Linked DNA regions of Homo sapiens: region 2 is linked to region 1. Evidence: promoter capture Hi-C in 16 types of primary human blood cells and fetal thymus (Javierre and others, 2016). All regions are on one chromosome and are shown on one strand. The core of a region is centred on a gene start or on the middle of the fragment in contact, and the rest is flanking DNA. Distances in the headings are between cores, read along the strand shown.

What was found. Contacts are between HindIII fragments. The CHiCAGO score rates a contact against its expected background, and 5 or more counts as called.
Region 2: a fragment that was not itself captured here is called in contact with the fragment with the promoter of BTNL8 in region 1 in 1 of 17 cell types (naive B cells); the score reaches 5.0 in naive B cells.

The regions. Positions count from the first base shown.
Region 1 is chr5:180,897,785-180,900,511 of GRCh38, forward strand. BTNL8 (butyrophilin like 8) reads left to right here and starts at 1,375. Exons shown (of 8, transcript NM_001040462.3): 1 at 1,375-1,575. The coding sequence starts at 1,527. The HindIII fragment of the contact is 2,662 bases long and covers 1-2,146 here.
Region 2 is chr5:180,785,556-180,788,282 of GRCh38, forward strand. It overlaps MGAT1 (alpha-1,3-mannosyl-glycoprotein 2-beta-N-acetylglucosaminyltransferase), which reads right to left. Exons shown (of 2, transcript NM_002406.4): 2 at 1-2,727. Among named protein-coding and RNA genes, the nearest start is that of MGAT1, 16 kb to the right of the region's middle. RefSeq lists enhancers at 1-391, 392-1,302. The HindIII fragment of the contact is 1,032 bases long and covers 847-1,878 here.

The DNA of each region.
Region 1 (2,727 bases), core at 125-2,624:
TGGGCCTAGGCCTAGGCTTCGAATGGCCATGGGTGGGGCATAGCTGCCACTGGAATGGAGAGGATACTGTGCCTTCTCAGCAGCTTCATAAAAAGGTATTTTGGTCTATATATCCTTGGTAAATCTGTATTTCTGAGACAGCATGAGATCAATAATTTTCTATTCTACTCTCTTGCTTACAACATTCAACAACTCATTTCCTTTTTTTTTTTATCACAGAGTAATATTCCATTGTATAGATGTACCATAGTTTGTGTATACATTCTATGTATCATTATTGAATGATATCTGGTTGCAAACATTTTTGGCAATTATGAATAAAGCTGCTATAAACATTCATGTGCAATTTTTCATGTGGACATATGTTTTCAAGTCATTTAGGTGAATAAAAAGCAGTGCAGTTGCTGGATTAGGTGATAAAAGTATGTTTAATTTTGCAGGAAATTGCTGAACTGTCTTCTAGAACAACCGTACCGTCTTGCATTCCTGTCAGCAATCAGTGAGAATTCCTGTTGCTCCGCATCCTCACCAGCATTTGGTGTTGTCAGTGTTCTAGATTTTAGACTAAATGCAGTGTTTTCATTTTGTCCTATTCTAGATGCTAACTTTTATTGTGATTTAGTCTCGTGAGTTGTTTTAAATTGTTACATAAGAATTTCTTAGTGTATAGAGTTTCCTATGTTTTTGAATTACTTTTTAATTTTAATTGCATTATGATTAGAGTATGTTTATTTTGATGGTTATCTGTGGAAATTTTCATTCTGATCTAGTTAAGTGGTGACTTTGTGAGTTTCCGTGTGCTTAAAAAGACTGCAAATCTCTCATTGTGGCTGCCCTGGAACTTAGTTTATATAATAAATAAGTTTCCTCATGTCTGAACCTGCCCAGGCACCTTTCCCAATGTATCAGATGTTTAACACTAAGGATCTGTTTTGTTCTGGAAAGTTATTTTTATCTGGCCTCATGATTACAGTCCTGGCCCTGAACTTCAGAGAATGGAGGGGTAAGCAAAAGGACCTCAGACTGTGCCAGGAAATGTCAAGTCACCTGCTGTAGGCTACTACTAATGGAGCATGGCCTATTTACTTGGACACCAAACTATCCAGTGCTAACATGAGGTTTTTCAGGACTAGATCCCATGGCCATACAGCCCTGCCTGCCAGATTGGACGTGAAAAGTATTTCCGCATCTGACATTCCTGTTTCACCCACACAGGGCATCGTTTTGCCCAGGACAAAGTTCACCTCCAATCTTATCCACACTATTTCTATCTTTGCTTCCTTGATAAGATATAGACATTTATGCAGTGGTTCAAAGTCTAGAGTCCCTACACTTCTGGTACATGACAGCTGTGTCTCGATGGAGTAGACTCTCAGAACAGCGCAGTTTGCCCTCCGCTCACGCAGAGCCTCTCCGTGGCTTCCGCACCTTGAGCATTAGGCCAGTTCTCCTCTTCTCTCTAATCCATCCGTCACCTCTCCTGTCATCCGTTTCCATGCCGTGAGGTCCATTCACAGAACACATCCATGGCTCTCATGCTCAGTTTGGTTCTGAGTCTCCTCAAGCTGGGATCAGGTAAGACTCATCTTTGTTTCCTCCTTACTAACTAACAGTTTGAGTTCTTTAGCTACAATGGTTGCAGCATAATGGAATGAAGGCATCTTTGTCGTTTCCATTCCTTTGGCTTCTCCTAGCCTCAGCCTGGGGAAGGATCAGGCGCTGTGGAAACAATTATAGTAGCCCCCAAATAATGGAAACACGGGTGTTGAAGACGCACCGTGATCGTTGACGGGGACACACCTAACGTGTTAAGGTGAATAAATTCAGTGTTTCTCCCAGATGGGCTGAGTGGTGTAGGCAGGGTTATTGGAGCACCAAGGTTGCTGACATGGATGTCCATCTGGGAAGAGACACAGTTAGGATTTTTGGGGAAAAGACAATGTATCCAGCTAAAGACATGCTGAGTTAGAAATGTCTGTGGTATGAGACACGAGGGTGGAGGAAGGTGTACAGGTCTTGAGGTGAGAAATTAGCTGAAACCTGGCATATTCTGGGAAGAAATCCACTCTTCTTTCTCCTTCCAGTTACTGTTAACACAGAACCTAGTATATAGGATGTTGAGTGACTGAATACAATTCACAGAGGAAGCTTGAGGTTGGGGTAGAATGCTGGTGGCTAGATGGTCAGTACCCAGCCACAGAAGATTCGATTGACTGTGTTCACTTTCTGTCTGTGAAGGTTCATCCTGCCACCTGTCCACCTATATCTTTTTTGCTAAATGAAGCTAAGAAAACAGAAATAAGGGCAATCAAAACATAGAGCATGTTTCCTTAAAACAAAAACCCATATGTGTTACTAACAGGAGACGCTCTCGTTTCAGTTTGTTTTCATTTATTTTCTGACGAGCTTCTTTGTTTCCCTTCTGTTTCCGGGTGAGGCAGCAGGACATCCTGGAAATGATCTTGGAGACAGAAACATTTTATTTTTAAAAACTCTTATTTCATTTTCTTGTGAGCTTTATTGTTCACAGCTTCCTTAGGTGTTGGTTTGCTTATGATGACATGGAGATACGATCACATTCCTGCTGGGGCTGTGGTGAGGACTGCATGAGCTTGTGCATGTAGAGTGCACACAGCTGCACGGGTGCATGGCATGTTGCAGCAACAGTCTTGTTCCTTTCTTATTTTCAAGGGAAGGAAGTGGAAGGAGTGAAAGGAGATGTTATAG
Region 2 (2,727 bases), core at 113-2,612, 110 kb before region 1:
TGAACTCCCTGGAGCTCAAGGCCCCAAGTGTGCCTGTTCTAGCAAGAACCAGGAAGAGGCTGTCTCCCTGCCATGACCTAATCTAGCAGCCACACAGCCCCATTCCGCTGCCAGCGTCCTGCAGGCCCCTCCTCAGGGAAGGCCCTCGGTGAAGAGTGAGGCCTGATCGCCGCTCACCTACTCCTGATCCTGAAAGGTTTTGCCCTTTTCCTAAATAGAAACTCTGAAAAGTAATCAAACAGTATTTCCAAAGGAGGCTTTTGGCAGGCTTGCCTCATTGCCCTTGCAGGGAAGGCTGCCTGTCTCTAGCCATCTTCCTCTTCTTACAGCTGTGCTGAGACGTTTTTGGCTGGGGCAGGGCTGCTGCACTGAGGGTGCATCCCACCTCCTGCAGGGAAGGCAGCCAGACCACATTCCAGTGAGTGGAACGTGAGGGAAGGCTGTCTGCCCACTGCTTTTGTTCCATAAAGAATGAGGCTTGCCCTCCCTTCCCCTCTCCTGCTTCCTGGTAGCTGAACCAGGGCAGCATTTGCTGTGAGCTGGGAGCCATGTGTTGAAGACGGCGGAACAACAAAAGTGAAGACAAAAAAGAAAACTGCATCACTGGCATGTGCCCTTGTCAGTCAGCACTTCCGGGGCTGTGTGTGGCCTTCAGGAATTTCAGTTTTCATGCATGACCCTGAGAAGACTCAGCCCCCTGCCACAGTAGGACAGGTTTCTCAAACAACCCACTAGGGTTAGGGGCCCGCAGGTTTCATTCTGCCCCTCTCCAGGTCAGGGTTCCTAATGCACTCCCCCCAAAGCTCCCCATCACCCTGCCCTCTCCAAATCCTCGTCACTGTCACAAGCTTGGTCTTCCAGGCACCGTGTATGGCCGTGGTCCCTGTAGTCGCCCATACAATCACTCCCTTCTTAGTAACAGGAATCTTAATTTGATTCAGCTTCAGAAATACTTTTTCCAGCCTCTTTTGCTGACAGGGGTGCCTGTGTGATCCAGTTCTACCCAGGGAATTGTGACCCAGCGCTCTGTGAGCTTCCAAGAGAGGAGGAGGCAGCTGCCATCCACCCTTTACCTTCTTCCTTCCTCCTTCTTCCTAAAACGTGTGCTGGCTGGAGCTCCCGCAGCCAAGGAATGAGACCTGACCTCGTGCTAAGAAGAGTGAGACTGAGACCTGAGAAGGAGCCTGGGCCCTGACGGTGGAGGAACCCCCACACCAGCCTGCACCATCGACCTCTCATTTCCGTCCGGCGCTGGGATCCAGGCTTCCTGCTCTGCAACTGAATCCATTCTGACACACTGTCTTACAGTTCTGGTATAAAGGGTCAGACTTCAAGTTAGCCAAGGGAGGCAGTGGGGGAAAGTAACAGCCTTGGCACTACCCGGCCCCCTTTCTATCAACTGCCCCCGCTCTGCCCGCTCCAGACACATGTGGAGGGGGATTAAGTGTCGAGGGAGCCAAGGTGAACAGCAGGAAAAGGAAAGCAGTGGAGACAGAGATTTCCACCAGGCTTTACTCACAATGCAGCCATACGGATTAATCCCACAGCCACCACAGAAGGTTGTGTTACCCCCGCCTCACAGGAAGAGGCTCTGGCAGGAAGAACAGCTGGACCCGAGTCAGACACGCAGGTCACGGGCCCAGAGCAGGGCCGGCCCAGGCCCACCGCACTCTATGACATCGGCCACCAGGCTGGTCTCCAGGAAATAGGGCCCTGGTGTCTACTTCCTAAACTCCCTGTGAATTGCCAGGGGCCAGAATGTGGGTAGGTGGGAGAACAGATGGAGGCTGAAGGACCTCTGGTGGCAAAACACTGACCTCTACAGAGGTCTCATCAGAAAGCCTGAAATCCCACGTTAGATATTTCAGAAAGAGGGCAAGCTTCTGTTCTATACATTTGTATGTTATTTAAAGTTACACAGCCAGACAAATATGTACATAACACTATGGGTTTTGGTGGTAAATGTTTTATCTATGCATATTATGTATAGATGTGAGGAAGACGTCTGGAAGGATACACCACCCACGCGTAAACACACGTTAAGGGAGCGTGTGCAGTATGTTGTATCTAAAATGAACATGTAATACGAAAAGCCAGTAGCTGGTATTTGTAAAGGGGTGCTCTGTATCTAACCCTCTAAATGCCCCCCACCTCCCACCCTCTTGGCCTGCTCTGAGGGCTTCGTCTCCGTTTCCCTGGCCCCTCAGCCTTGGCAGGCTTCTCATGCAGGGCCCAGTGAAGGCTCAGGAGGGCCTTGGCCAGACTCCATCAGACATTTGTCTCCACTGGGGGCGACTTGATCCACAAATGAGATCCCACCAGTGACCCAGGTAAGAGGATTGCAAAGGCCAAGAGGCTTGAGGAGGGAAGGCTGCCCGGAAGGCAGTCTGTCCTGGAGACAGAGTGAGCAGGAACCCACAGTGAGAGCAGGAGTGGCAGGAGGTGGTCACAGCTGGAGGCAGAAGCAGGAATGCAGCAGCAGCAGCAGCCAGGCGCAAGGCAGCTCTGTAAACCTGCAAACTCGAGGCTGGCTGAACTCTACAGCATTGACTAACACGGGGCTTTTCCATCTGGCATTTCCACTTGCTTTGGTATCCACAGGCGCTTCCGGGCCCGGGGGCAGCCGCCACGCACACACGCATGCCACCTGAGCAAGCCTTGATGGGTGAATACCAGGAGACCCCTGAAGGTGCTCCTTGCTTCAGGAGCCTGAGAACCCAGTCTTTC